Linked DNA regions of Homo sapiens: region 1 is linked to region 2. Evidence: promoter capture Hi-C in 16 types of primary human blood cells and fetal thymus (Javierre and others, 2016). All regions are on one chromosome and are shown on one strand. Each heading gives the region's core, a stretch centred on a gene start or on the middle of the fragment in contact. The rest is flanking DNA. Distances are from core to core; before and after follow the strand shown.

What was found. Contacts are between HindIII fragments. The CHiCAGO score rates a contact against its expected background, and 5 or more counts as called.
Region 1: a contact is called between a fragment that was not itself captured here and the fragment with the promoter of LARRPM in region 2, in 2 of 17 cell types (erythroblasts and M1 macrophages). The highest score is 5.7, in erythroblasts.

What each region holds. Positions count from the first base shown.
Region 1 is chr6:26,628,049-26,631,508 of GRCh38, forward strand. It overlaps the pseudogene VN1R14P. Among named protein-coding and RNA genes, the nearest start is that of ZNF322, 30 kb to the right of the region's middle. The HindIII fragment of the contact is 2,691 bases long and covers 821-3,460 here.
Region 2 is chr6:27,018,467-27,021,968 of GRCh38, forward strand. It overlaps LARRPM (LINC00240 antisense RNA regulating promoter methylation), which reads right to left and starts at 1,840. Exons shown (of 1, transcript NR_026776.1): 1 at 900-1,840. All of the region lies in intron 2 of LINC00240 (long intergenic non-protein coding RNA 240), which reads left to right. TRI-TAT2-2 (tRNA-Ile (anticodon TAT) 2-2) reads left to right here and starts at 1,880; the gene lies at 1,880-1,973. RefSeq lists an enhancer at 1,585-1,844. The HindIII fragment of the contact is 5,623 bases long and covers 1-3,502 here.

The DNA of each region.
Region 1 (3,460 bases), core at 916-3,415, 390 kb before region 2:
CACGCCTGTCCTGTAATCCTAGCACTTTGGGAGGCAGAGGTGGGTGGATCACTTGAAGTCAGGAGTTCAAGACCAGCCTGGCCAATATGGGGAAACTTCATCTCTACTAAGAATACAAAAATTAGCCGGGCATGTCGGCGCATCCCTGAAATCCCTGCTACTCAGGAGGCTAACGCAGGAGAACTGCTTGAGCCCAGTAGGCAGAGGTTGCAGTGAGCAGAGATCGCGCCACTGCACTCCAGCCAGGACGACAGAGCAAGACTCCATCTCAAACAAAACAAAACAAGACAAAAAAAAAACAAAAAAACTGGCAACATTTAAAATGTAGTGGGGCTTGTTGACAGTGATCTTCACTAGAGGGTAATGTGGTAGGGCCATGTTTTCGGCATTGATGATGTTCGTTTCTTTACAGCTCTCCTCTTCACTTGGTCAGATTTACCAAGTAGAACTCTTTCAATGACATGCCTGGAAGCTAAGGACTGCCTAGCCTGAAATCTGGCAGTAGAGTTGGATAAGACTGCCACGATTTTGTAGCTAGCATGAATAAATTTGTGTGATAATTCTATTTCCATCCTCCCACTCCATGCTACCCATCACATCATCTGTGCCTTGTGTCCTTCATTCAAGATACTATCTGTTTCATCCTCTTTCTGCCAGGGTTGGAAAGACAAGAGAGAGAGAGAGCTTTTATACATTCTTCCTTATTTTAGCCCTTCACCAATTATCCCTCAGATCCAGAAGTACCTATGGTCATAAATTTCTGAGTCTTTAGAAAATCCTGTGGTGTAACTTAGGCTGATTTTTAGCTTTTCCCACTGCAAGCTTAGAACTCAGTTTTCTCTTTTCAATATAAAATATTTTTTCAATATAAAATATGATTCATTTTTTCTTGTCTTTTATGGCTATACAGTTGACCTTTGAACCACACTGGTTTGAATTACCAAGGTCCATTGTTACGTGAATTTTTTTCCTACTAAACGCAAATGGAAAATACAGTATTTGTGGGATGTGAAATCTGCCTACAGGGAGGGCTGACTTTTAGTTTCCGTGGTTCTGCAGGGCTGACTGCTGGACTTGAGTAAGTCCAGATTTTGGTATACCACAGGGTCCTGGAAACAATTTGCTGCACCTACTGAGAGATGGCTGTACTTTTTTTTTTCTTCAAAATCAATTTTTGTGTCCCATTTGTTTAGAAGCTCTATATTCTATATCTATTACTTTTTGCATTTGTCATAAAACTTTAAGACCCATAATTAAACAATTAAAATTAATCAACATGTTTACAATTCTCCCAATAGAATGACACTAGAACACTTTTGTCTTACAACTTTCCTCTCAAATTTTGTGATATTATTGTTCAGTAGGCTGTTCACTCTGTGTAAATCACTTACCATTATTGTTTCATATATTGTATATTTGTTAATATACACCTACCTAGTGATATCATCTCTCCTCATCATTTCTGCATTTCTCTTTCTTGGAAACATATATGTAAGTGTAAAGAGATTGTGCAACTGTATTTCTACATCTTACCAAATATTACTTAATATTTTTATGTGCATATGTATCAAATGTCTGTAGAAGGACACATGACAATGTGATAACACTGTCTTTGGAAAGGAATTAAGTGACTAGATTTAAGTAAGGATGATCAAAGGAGACGTTTTAAATGTAATGTTTCAAAATTTTTAACCTTTAAATGTTGAGATAAATGTGGATTCACATGCAGTTGTAAGAAATCATACAGAGAAATCCCAGTTTCTTCCAATGATAACCACTATTTTGCAAAATTAGTACAATCATACAACCTGGATATTGACAATGATACAGCCAAGCTACAGAACATTTCTATCACCCCATGGATACATCATGTATCCTTGGATAACTACACCTACCTCACTCCCCAACCCTTATACATGACAACCACTAAGCTGTTCATTTCTATAATTTATCATTTTAAGAATGTTATAAATGGAATCATACAGTATATAAACTTTAGTATTGGCTTTTTTCACTCAGAACAATTATTTTAATTTTCTTACTAGTAGATATTATTTTCCTGCTTGAGGAATTATGATTTATTTTTCTAAGGACAAGACAATATGGATGATCAGGGTTTTTTTGTTTGTTTTTTTGAGATGGAGTTTTGCTCTTGTTGCCCAGGCTGGAGTGCAATGGAGTGATCTCGGCTCACCGCAACCTCTGCCTCCCGGGTTCAAGCGATTCTCCTGCCTCAGCCTCCCAAGTAGCTGGGATTACAGGCATGCGCCACCATGCCCACCTAATTTTATATTCTTAGTAGGGATGGGGTTTCTCCATGTTGGTCAGGCTGGCCTTGAATTCCTGACCTCAGGTGATCCGCCCACCTCGGCCTCTCAAAGTGCTGGATTATAGGTTTGAGCCACTGTGTCTGGCCTGGATGATCAGGTTTTATTCTTTATTAGTTGAGATAATTATATTTGTAATTGAATTATGATTATTGAACTGCATTCTTTTTGGTTGTTGATTTCTCATTTTCTCAAAGCAGATGCCCAAAATCTGTGGAGGTGGTTGTCATTGCAAAGAAGTACCACAGGGCTTAAAAAGGCAAAGTTCACCCCAATGAACTTCTTAGTATTCAAAAACAGGTTCAGTTTTTGAAAAATAACCTAGACTGAAGGAAACAATCATATCAAGCCCACAGGAAAAAATGAAGCACAGGGTCAAAATGATCGTCTCTTTAGTTGCTTTCATCCCAGGGCTTTTTTTTCTTGGAGATGGAGTTTCACTCCTGTTACCCAGGCTGGAGTGCAATGGTGCGATCTCGGCTCACTGCAACCTTTGCCTCCCGGGTTCAAGTGATTATCCTGCCTCAGCCTCCCGAGTAGCTGGGATACAGGCATGCACCACCACGCCCAGCTAATTTTGTATTTTTAGTAGAGATGGGGTTTCTCCATGTTGGTCAGGTTGGTCTCGAACTCTCAACCTCAGGTGATCCGCCTGCCTCAGCCTCCCAAAGTGCTGGGATTACAGGCCTGAACCACCGCGCCCGGCCCCAGGGTTCATTTTGAATTAGGGGCCCGACCTGTGAAGGTGCTGTATTTGCTCGTGATGTCTGTAGAGGGGATGCATCCTATACCCACTCGTCCAGCACATAAAACCCAGGAGGGGAAACGTCATGAATGTGAAATGCCATGAACGTGAGAAAGAATCACCTAATAAAATTATCCGTTAGCAAAACAGAGCAAGATTTCACAATGTATCTGGATACAGTCTCATTCTTGAGGGCTGTAATTGAGATAAAATTAAGTTGGAAAATATGAGTAAATTAAATTAAGAATTCAAACAAAAAGGAGTAAAGGGCACACAATGGTTTTCTGGTTTTGAGCACTGATCAATAGGGGTTACAAAGGCCAATGATGATGGCATAAAGAATGCTTAAGTGGCTTGTCTAACAGATGGAAAGGCCACGTGACACTGT
Region 2 (3,502 bases), core at 590-3,089:
CATCCCTCTGCTCACTGAGATAGATGCATACTCTGATTGCCTCCTTTGGAAAGGTTTATCAGAAACTCAAAAGTAAGACCTGGCAGCCCCCTCCCTGCTTTGTCCCCGCCTTTCTGGATGGAACCAATGTACTTCTTACATATATTGACTGATGTCTCATGTGTCCCTAAAATGTATAAAACTAAGCTGTGCCCCGATTACCTTGGGCACAGGTAGTCAGAACTCCCTGAGGCTGTGTCACAGGGGTGTGTCCTCAACCTTCGCAAAATAAACTTTCTAAATTAACTGAAACGTGTCTCAAATTTTCGGTGTTCACATCCGCAAAGGAAATGAAATCAGGATCTCGAAGCAATAACTGCATGCCCATCTTCATTGAAACATTATTCACAATAACTAAGATATGGAATCGACCTAAGTGGCTGTCCACCAATGAATGGATAAAGCACATATAGTTTATACACACAATAGAATATTATTCATCCTTAATAAAGAAGATCCTGCTGTTTGCAACATGGATGAACCTCGATGTCATTATGCTAAGTGAAACAAGCCAGACACAGCAAGAAAAATACTGCATGATCTCTTATGTGGATTCTAAAAAAGTCAAATACATAGAAGCAGAGTAGAACAGTGGTTACCAGGGGTGGAGACGTATGGAAATGGTTAAGATGTTGGTCAAAGGATACAAAGTTGCAGTTCTATAGGATGAATAAGTCTAGAGATGTAATGCATAGCATAACTATAGTTAATACTGCATTGTGCATTGGAAACTTGCGGAGAGTACATTTCATGCGCTCTCACCACTTACACAAAATAGTAACTGTGAAGAGATGTATTATGTTAATTAGCTTGACTGTAGAAATCATTTCACTGTGTACATGTATCAAAACATCATGTTGTACACCTTAAATATATAGTTTTTATTTTTAAAACACTGTTTGGGATTAAAAGCCCAGCTAATTCTGCCTTAATATCTCATTCTTATCCACAATGTCCACCCATAAGAAAGACGCCCGATACTCCGTGTAAACACACACTCCCCATCTCCCATACAAATTTACCTTCTAGAGAGAGCCCTTTTCCCCAAACTCTCCTCTCAAAACACTCTGAAGCACAAGGTCTTTAGCCTAGTTAGACATTTTCTGAAAAACTTAGTTTAACTCAGCGTAGAGACACCATGAATTTCAGAGACCCAGTCCTGGGCCTGCTTCAGTTGCTTTAGCCTAGAGTTTCAACTCCCAGGTCCCGGGGAGGGATGCTCCAAGGAAGAAATAGAGGCCCTATTCCAGGGCTGTTTCTCGCAGACTAGCCACAGAAAATGCAGCCCAGCGCCACTTCCTTTCAGTAGCAACACGTTTCCAACACGTTTGTTAAGCGGGAACGGAAGTGAGCGGAAAGGAATGCGTTTGGTAAATCCCACTTTAAGGATTTCGTAATCCTCCCAGGGATTCCCACCACCCGCACTCCACTCGCAGACTGCGGGCCTTCCTCCGACGCTGGGAGAAGGACCCTGGGAGAGGCAAGGGAAGGGCTCCGGAACCAGCGCAGCAGCGGGACGCTAGCCCGCCCACACGGCGGCCACTTGAAGGTCCTCCAGGGAACACCTGAGGCAGTGGGAGCGTCTGCCCTTTCCTAAGTCTCCTTGGAAAGAAGTATTCGCTTTCGTTTCCGCAAACAAAGCATGCTCCGCGCTTTCAGGACCGGTGGCTCCCGTGGAGACCGCAGCGGAACCCAGTCCGCCTTCGCACGCGTCCGGGGGAGAAGCGGCCCCAGGACTAAGGGCGCGCGCCCGAGGAACCGGTGCTGTGACGACCAGAGCAAACACGCCGGATGTTCCTGTGTAGGCTGTGTAAGGAGTGACCGGAAGTAGAAACTGGGTGCTCCAGTGGCGCAATCGGTTAGCGCGCGGTACTTATATGGCAGTATGTGTGCGAGTGATGCCGAGGTTGTGAGTTCGAGCCTCACCTGGAGCATTGTTTTCCAACCCAAAATAGCATTACTTGAAGTGCCTTTCCCCCTGTAATCCGACTCCATCGTCTTTAACGTGTTTGGAATTGTGTACACAGTTTATTGTTATTGGTTTCCTTAGCCTTTTTAGAACCAAGCAACGCCAATTACCAACAAAATCCGTTGCGCCGCAGTGAGTTAGCTACCTTCTATCTCCACTTTGTTCTGCACGTCGATCTCAGGTAAAGAACATCATCTCTTTACATCCTTCTTTCCACTTTGTTCTTAGGATCATCGATCATCGTTCCTCGGGGAGCCCCTGGCACATACTTAGTGCTAAGAAACTCCCATCAGGTGATAAGCATTGAACTCCATTTAAGGAAACTCAAAAGTGGGAAATAGTAAAAGGTTCCTGTCTGATTAAAGCTCTGATTGGGAGGGGTGTGGGGGGACTGATTTCTGACAACAGTGTCCCCTCCAGTATTTTTCCCCCACTTAATTTTACCCTGATAAAAATCAACAGTCATGGAAGATCTAGCAGCTTCTATCAACTGAGAAACAGCACCTGGTGTCCTCAGGCATTCAATTACCTGGACTTGGAAAAGGATGAGTGATAATAGACCCAGAAACCTGAAATCTTTAGAACAGCATTACAAGAATAAGCATATTGTTGTGGCTGAGGTGGGTAGGAAGTAGATAGGGATTTTGACTTTAAAATAGGCTTCCTCTCCCTATGACACCTGCAGTTTGCCTGGACATAGCTTTTATCATATGCTTCCCAACTCTTCAGCAAGAGAGGGAATTGAACTGAGTAATTGGGAGTTGTTTTCCTAGCTATAAAGATTGCCACAAATCTGAAAGCACATGTGTCCCACTTGGGACACGGAGGTGAGTGGAATTAAGCTGAGCACAGATAACTCTCTCTTGAGATCTGTATTCCTAAATGGGTCTTGCATGTATCTGGACATTGTCCACTCACAGACTCTCTCCTGAGAAAGGTTAGCGAGGTCCCGTTCAGGAATGCACCAGATGATAATAAAGTGAACACCTTCTCACTTTGTAGCTCTTGCTAAGCCACTGGAGTACCTTAAAAGCTATCAAAGCATAATCTTCAAATATATATATAGTAACTAATCACCAAATATTTATTTAAGTCACTAATGAGAAAAGGAGGAGTATGGTAAACTGATTGCAATGGCAATAGAAAAGGCTGGTAAAGGTATAGTCAGTGGGGGAAAAATAATGCTGACATGAGATTGCAAGTTTAAGTAAAAAACTAGCTAATGTCCTATGAGGCAGTGAAAACTATGGCCTTTGGGATTATTTTTATCTAAAAGACAGAAACTAGTTGCATCTTTACTGGGTAAAAATCATTCAAAACTTAATATTCTACATAATGACATTTAACCTTGTAATCTATTTTCTAATCATTAGTAAATAGTGACCTCCAAAAGTTCCATTAACTTAGAGGATTACTTGCCCCTTCAGTGGGCTTGTTAGACAATGCTCTAGTATTATTTTGAAAGAGTACTAATATCTTTTTTTTTTGCCTTAT